Regions from separate parts of the Homo sapiens genome. Here region 1 is linked to region 2. The links are contacts of gene promoters, found by promoter capture Hi-C in human tissues and cell types (Jung and others, 2019). All regions are on one chromosome and are shown on one strand. The core of a region is centred on a gene start or on the middle of the fragment in contact, and the rest is flanking DNA. Distances in the headings are between cores, read along the strand shown. Region 1 overlaps NSD3 (nuclear receptor binding SET domain protein 3). Region 2 holds the start of FGFR1 (fibroblast growth factor receptor 1).

Region 1 (3,624 bases), core at 539-3,038, 180 kb before region 2:
ATAAAGGGAGTAAACACCTATATTCTCATTTGGTGGCGGGATAACCTGGTAGAACAAGAACAGGATTTCACATAAGACATGTTGCTACTAGGTATGAGAGGACTTATCAAAGACCTAATTTTCACAGCACAATAACTATGGCTCCCATTTGATGCTTCCAACAGAAGCTCTGTTTTACAGAAGACTGTGATAATTAGCAAAAGTTTGCACAAGTCAAAGAGGGTCTTTAACTACTAAAGAGTAATGCATTTCGTCTCATCTATTAAATAACAATGCTTTCATAGTAAAGACTTACTTTGTTTCTTATTTTATTTGGCAATCCCAGGCCAGAGATAAAGACTTACTTTGATGTGTTTGTAGGGAGGGGGTTTTCTTGAGTTTTTTTCAATCTCTAGGGCTTCTTTACTTTCTCTTTGTGCTTTCAATTCCTGGAAACGTTTTGCAGCTTCTTCCAGTGCTGCCAATAAGATGATACAAAGTATGTAAATACCAAAAACCAAAGGAAAATTGATGGGATAGTAGTTTTACGCTGCCTTCCCAATGCTTTGCATCTGGCCTGAGATTTTTCTTTTTAGAATTATTTTCTGGAAGTTACTGTTTACCACCAGGATGGGGTAACAAAGAAATAGGATATAACTCACTGAACACTATGCTCTGTGCATGCTGTAGCCACAGGGAAGAGGCTCTACTTCAATGATCAGAAGTCTCCAAGTGACCCTAAGAGCAGCTTTTTGCCTTGTAATAGATTTAAATTCATTTTACCCTTACCAGAAAGCCAAACTTGCTGGCAACTCATTGCAAAAGCAGTTGTAAGGCTTTTCATGGCAAGTCTTTACTACTCTTCTGTTGCAAAGGAACTTCACTTGATTAAAAAGACTATTCTCAGGCTGGGCTTGGTGGCTCAGAGCTATAATCCCAACACTTTGGAAGGCTGAGGTGGGCAGATCGCTTGAACCCAGGAGTTCAAGACCAGCCTGGGCAACATGGTGAAACCCTATCTCTATAAAAAGTACAAAAATTAGCTGGGCATGATAGTGGGCACCTGTAGCCCCAGCTACTCGGGAGGCTGAGGCAAGAGGATCACTTGAGCCCTGGAGTTCAAGGCTGCAGTGAGCTGTGATCATGCCACTGCATTCTAGCCTGGGCAAGAGTGAGACCCTGTCTAAAAAAAAAAAAAAGACTATTCCTAGAATAATCTGTGTTTATAGAAAGACACTGAAGAAATTCCTTTCAAATACACAGCACAGTCTACAATATTGAAATGTATTTTAAACCTGGTTCTAATGTGACTGGAAGCTTATGGACACAGGATCATAATGTCTAGTGAAAATTCTCTAATACCAGAAATATTAGGGAGGTGAGGAGATGTTGAGAAACTGACACCGGAGTTGTAGTTTTGAGTCACTGTAAACATCATCCAGCTTACCCTTTTTGAAGGTCTTGTTAATACTAGTCTGCCCTTCAGCAAAGCTTTTGTCTCCTTCAACATAAGGGAACACTCTGCCCTGGTGTACCCAGTAGTAGTCATGAGAACCAAAGAAGAATACAGGGAAGTCCCCCAAGTCATGTTTAAGGCCCTGGATGTTCAGTGGCACAGACCTGGGGTTGCAGATCTCTGCTGGCCACCATCTGAAAACAAAAGCAATTTTAGATCAAGAGGGCAAAAACGAAACAAAAAACCACTATTTACAAGATTGGCAGAAGGGAAAAAAGTTTTTGTATTTTGCAATTTTCATTCAGATTCTAAGAACATAAAATACCACACATCATTATAAAAAGTAATTAATGAAATAGTGAACACAGACTAAACAAATTAGGCCCTAAACACCTGATCTACTTTCTTTTAAAAAATATTTCATATTTATAAAATATATATCATGAAAATGTTCTAAAATGTAATAATACTGAACCTACTACCCAATGATATTCCAAACCTAATTTCAATCCTAGAAAAGTCATGTTTCCCCCCAAACTTAATACTGAGATTATCTTTCAAGGTATAACAGTTTATTTCTAGTAGTCAATGGAATCATTTTGAGAATAAACTGATGCTATCATAAAGAATGGCCACTCCCATTCAAATCAGCATTTAGTCTCGAGTCAACCTGGGCAAACACCTCTTGGTCAAATGTACTAGGTTTTATATCACTTTGTATTTCAGAATCTAATTCATCTTAGATCATAATTAAACATGGAATAGTGGACAGAATGAAAATATAACTGTTTCAGGCTATGATAATTGAATACTACAGCAGTCACTAAATGAAACCATCTGTGAGGAAATCTGACAGTTTCTAGCAAGCAGACAAGTTAAGAATTGAATGATGAAGCTAACAGTCAGAAAATGAGGCCAACCTCATGGGCTTTTGTAGTAAATATACATAGACTTAAATTTTTTGAATCTCTTATTTTACATATGCTTAATAAAACAATTTTTAACACATAACTGTATTATTGAGAAGATAAATGATGACATGATTGCACTCCCAGATTTATATTGCAGAACTTGATAAAGTGTCACCTGAAAGGTACTCTGCTGTTCATCTAAGAATTGAAAACATGGGTAAGAATCCATGCGCAAATTGTAAACAAAACAAAAACCAATATTTTCTGTGATTGATACTTGGTTCGTTCTCAAAGCAGGCTCTATTTATTTCTAAACAACTTTAAGGTAATTAAATATGTATACAGTTACTGCCTTCACTAACGTCAGTTAGGAAGAGTCACATGTTCTGCCTGGGTTTGTTCCAGGTCCTCATATTTTCCCCCAAGAAGCAACACATTGGAATAACTAGTTATTGAAAATAAACAGCTTCATGCAGCCCCACTGGGCCTGACTGGAAAGAAATACATTAAGAATTAGTTCACGGATGGAAGTCTTTCCAAAACATACAAGAAGAATCTGACCTAGATATAAGATCTCACTGGACTGTGAATTTAATTGGAGCACTGTTTTGGGTTTCTTTAAAATGTAATATAATTAAAATTTAAGTGTTAAAATAAATCAAAGACATTTTTATATCCATAACTTTAAAAAAATTGAAGTTTATTTGAAGATCTGAAGGCTTCTTACATTGTTTTAGATATTTCTTATCTAGAAATGTCTTAAATGTATTAATTTTCAAACTGTGCACCCTTCTCCATGCCAGAAAGATACATATTTTTCAATTATGAAAGCAGTATGCACTTCTTCTAAAAATTAAAACAATGCAGAAATGTATAGTAGAAAAGTGAAAATGCCTCTTCTTGTAATCTCATCCTTGACACTATTAACATTAGATGTATTTCTTCCCAGGTATTAAAAACATACTGTATTGGCCAGGTGTGGTGGCTCAGGCCTGTAATCCCAGCACTTGGGGAGGTTGTGGCGGGCAGATCACTTGAAGTCAGGAGTTCAAGACCAGCCTGGCCAACATGGTGAAACCCCGTCTCTAATAAAAATACAAAGATTAGGCCAGGCACGGTGTCTCACGCCTGTAATCCCAGCACTTTGGGAGGCCAAGGCGGGTGTATCACGAGGTCAGGAGATCGAGACCATCCTGGCCAACATGGTGAAACCCCATCTCTACTAAAAAAAAAAAATACAAAAAATTAGCCAGGTGTGGTGTCGGGTGCCTGGAGTCT
Region 2 (4,081 bases), core at 489-2,988:
CCCCCCCCCACCACCACCAAAAAAGTGTCTGGCTGCCTCATAGGGGGTGTGTGTTCTATATGAACCCCCATCTACAAGGTCCATAAAATTCCTCCGCAAACATGGGTCGTAGCCTCACTTTTCTCCCAACCCCAAACATAACGGTAGGGGAAGCGAGGTGCAGAGGGGTCTGGGCCAGAGAAGCATACGCATCGCTGCCGAGTGAACCACACCGGACAAAAACCCTCATCCCTTCCCCCACCTCTAGGAACCAGATTGGGACCGAACGGTCCTTCCGCCCCCATCCCACACCTCGGCTTAACGACCGTGGGTTGTCCTCCCGTTCCCCAAACTTCCGACCCTTTCAGAGACCGTCCAAGTCATAAGATCACCCCTTCTGGAAAGGGGAGTCGTTTTTCGCTCTCAGCTCAAGCAGATTCAGCCATTTGGTGACGACACCTCCTTAAAACCTATTCCAAGAGAAGCTAACCTAGCCCTCCACGTCCTCCGCAGTTCATCTCCCACCCCATCCGACCCCAACCCGCACCCCAGGCTTTCCCGGGGGTGGAAAAGGACTTAGGAATGCCCCGGATTTTTAGCGTTGAGCCCAAAGCTACCTGCTGAATTGGGGGTGAATCCCCAAAAGGGGACCAAAAAGACATGGAGTGGAATGCAACACACACACATAACACACACAACGCATCCCACCTCGCCGCCCACTCCCGCCCTCCTCCCCAGTCCAGGAAACCGCGGGCCTCGCCGCCTTCGCCCCGGGCCTGTCCCTCCCGGGACTCACTGAGGAGCCGCCGCCGCCTCGCCAGCTCCCGAGCGCGAGTTGGAGGAAAAGTTGGGCGGCGGGAAGAGCGGCGGGACGAGCGCAGGGAGGGGGCGCAGGAGACGCGGACGGAGGGAAGGGAGGGGAGACCCAAGGGGCGCGGATCGCCCGGGAGGGAGCCAGGAGGTGAAAGGGGCGGGCGGCGAGCGGAGGGAGGCGCCGGCCCCGGCTGGGCTGCGGCGGGCAAAGCGCGCAGCCGGGAGGCTCCGGCGCCGGGGGCCGCTCGGGACGCCAAGCCCGCCCCAGATCCGGGGGCGCCGCGGCTCTTACCTCGCTCGGCGTGGAGGTTCCGCCTCGGGAGAGTCCGCCGTGGCTTGTGCGAGCGGGCGTGTGCCCGCGTCCCCGGCTCCGGCCCGCCGCCCCCGGGCTCTGTTCGGGTCCTGGCGGGGTCGCAAGAGCTCCGCGGCCGGCGCTCGACTCCCGGCGGCGCTCGGTGCTCGGCGCCTCCAGCCCGGGCGGGAACAATGGAGCCGGAGCTGGTGCCCCGGAGGCGGGGCGGGGGGAGGGCTCCCGTCCGCCACCCGGGGTCTCCAGACCTTGTGCCCCCCTCCTCCAGAACGCAGCGGCGGCGCCTCACTTTCCTTGCAGACCGGGCTCCATCGCCCTGCGGAGGCCCCGGCGCCGCGGCGTGCCCGACTGCAGCACGGGTACCGTGCGCCCTGCGGGGCGCCCCGAGCTCGGACCGGAGAAAAGTCCTTGGGTTCCGCGGCTTTTCAAGCAGCGGCGCGCTCGCGGCCGGGGAAGGCGAGGTCGCCGCAATGCGCTACGAGGGGTCTCGGTCCCGTCCGGACGTGGCCGCCCAGCTCCCGGCACACCCGGGTTCCTCCGCGCGCTGCGGCTGCACCGGCGTCCCGGCTCCCGCTAGCTGCCGCCCGCCGCCGAGGACGCCGCGCCTGTGGCCGCAAGAGCGCTCCGAGCGCTATGCGCCGGCGGGGCGCGAGGGCTCGCTCTCTCACTCCCACCCGCGCTGGTCCCTCCTCCGCCTCCGCCCCCTGCAGCTGCCTGCTGGGCCTTGTAGTTCCCCAGCCGCGGCCCCAAAGGACGGGGAGCGGGCCGAGCTGTCCGGCGCTCTGCCCTTCTCTTCCTACAGCCTGGTCTCCTTTGGCGTTTGCGCCCCTGCATCTGAGCACGTCCCAGAGGGCGCCGGAATGTCAGGCCCTAGACATAGCAGCGGTTTGGGGGCTAGGGGGCAGGTGAAGAGACGCCGCAGCCTTGAGGTTGTACCTGGTAGCGTGGGCTTTGGAGTCTGTGCGCCTTGGGGAAATGATTTTCGCGCTCTAAATCTCTGTTTTCCCATCTGTAAATGGGGGATAATAGTGCTTTTCACATAGAGTTGAGGCGTCAACGAGGGCCTAGCGCATAGTTAACACTTAGTAAATACAAGCCGGTTTTATTATAAGGTCAGCCCCTCCTCAAACCCTTCCCTTGGATTTCAGCTTTCCCCAGCCACATAATTTAGGTTTTGTGGTCCACCGGGAACTGGACCCTGTAAATTCTACAGCGATGCTGTTGGCTTCCAGAAGTCTCCAGCCTGCAGTGAATGTCTAGGAAGCAAAGAGTAAGCAGTGGGAGTTGAGGGGAGACGTGTGGTTGGTTTGGAAATTAATCACAGCCCACTCAGAACACCCTCCAGTACTGTGGAACACAGGAAAGTGGCTAAAATGCTTCCCCCTGAGTCTTCCCGCGAAGTGGTATAATGTAGTGGTTCCCTAATCCAGATGGACACGGGTCCTAGGGAACGTCTGAAAAATACAAGTTCATGGGCCTGCTCAGACATGAGGAATCACGCTGTCCCAGGAAGGAGCCAAGAGCCTTTATTTTTTCCAAGGCTCCTTGGGGCGTGTGATGTGAGCCCAGGCTGAGGCCACCATTGGGGTGGGAAGTAGGCAGCACTTGGTCTGAAGGATTCCTCCATTCTGTCCATCATTTATGAAGTTTGATGTAGGACAAATCATGCATCTGATAAAATCAAAACGGGGTATCTGTTGATACTCCTTCACAAGATGGTCATAAGAATCAAATAAAATAATAGCTCTCAGTGGACCAAAAATATTACACAAATGGAAGTCACTATGAAAGGTAGTGGCAGGGCCTGTTCCCTTACCATCACCCACCTCAACCCCGAAACTTGTAGAAGTTTGAATACTGAATGAGATCCCCCCACCCAACTCCTCACCCAACCCACCCACGCCTCCCTGGCTAATTTAAGAAAAGAGTTGGCCGGGTGCGGTGGCTTATGCCTGTAATCCCAGCACTTTGGGAGGCCGAGGCGGGTGGATCACGAGGTCGGGAGATCGAGACTATCCTTGCCAACAAGGTGAAACCCCGTCTCTACTAAAATACAAAAAAATTAGCCAGGCATGGTGGCGCTTGCCTGTAATCCCAGCTACTGGGGAGGCTGCGGCAGAGGAATCGCTTGAACCCGGGAGGCGGAGGTTGCAGTGAGCCGAGATTGTGCCACTGCACTCCAGCCTGGCAACAGAGCAAGACTCCGTCTCAAAAAAAAAAAGAAAAGAAAAGAAAAAATGGTCCTCGCGCTATTTTTCTAATCCACCAGTAGGTGACAGACTAGTGGCCAACACAGTGTTATTCACATAGTAGACACTCATGAAATCCCTTGACTGGCCAAAGAGCAAATATTCAATAAGTATTTGTTGAACAAATGAGTAAATAAACAACTAAATTACAGCTCACGCCTGTAATCCCAGCACTTTGGGTGGCCGAAGCGGGAGGATCACTTGAAGCCAGAAGTTCAAGACCAGCCTGGGAAACAAAGTGAGCCCTTGTCTCTACAAAATATTTTTAAAAATTAGCTGGAGGTGGAGGCTGAAGAAGGAGGATGGCTTGAGCCCAGGAGTTTGAGGCTGCAGTGAGCTATGATCCAGCCACTACACTCCAGCCTGGGCGACAGAGTAAGACCCTGTCTCAAAACAAAATAATACAAAACAAAAAATGAGAAACAAGAACTCATATCTTTGTTGAATAAATGAACTTCAGCCACTGTTTATAGGGTTTTCCCCTAAGAGCCACCATTTAACCTTTCAGCTCCTGGTCAAGCTTGGTTTATACTCCTATGTAAGCTGCCCACCCATTAGGCCTCCTGCATTTTAATTACTACACATCACACGCTTGTAAGAAGGCCATACTCACACCCTACCCCCAAGAGGCCTTCCCTGCCCATCCCAGCTTTGTCAGTCCCTGGACCCCCTGCTCACTTGCTGACTATCCACTGAGTTGATACCGTGCTTTGTTAGTGGTTTTCCTTAC

What was found. The method cuts DNA at HindIII sites, captures the fragments that hold promoters and counts their contacts. A contact is called where the count stands out against the background at its distance.
Region 1: a fragment that was not itself captured here is called in contact with the fragment with the promoter of FGFR1 in region 2 in 2 of the 25 tissues and cell types used here (aorta and pancreas).

The regions. Positions count from the first base shown.
Region 1 is chr8:38,289,049-38,292,672 of GRCh38, forward strand. NSD3 (nuclear receptor binding SET domain protein 3) reads right to left here. Exons shown (of 24, transcript NM_023034.2): 17 at 1,427-1,629; 18 at 345-457. Among named protein-coding and RNA genes, the nearest start is that of PLPP5, 22 kb to the left of the region's middle. The HindIII fragment of the contact is 6,513 bases long and covers 1-3,624 here.
Region 2 is chr8:38,466,897-38,470,977 of GRCh38, forward strand. It overlaps FGFR1 (fibroblast growth factor receptor 1), which reads right to left and starts at 1,739. Exons shown (of 18, transcript NM_023110.3): 1 at 1,085-1,739. RefSeq lists silencers at 1,022-1,141, 1,152-1,281, 1,552-1,621 and enhancers at 1,479-2,465, 1,902-2,071. The HindIII fragment of the contact is 23,892 bases long and covers 1-4,081 here.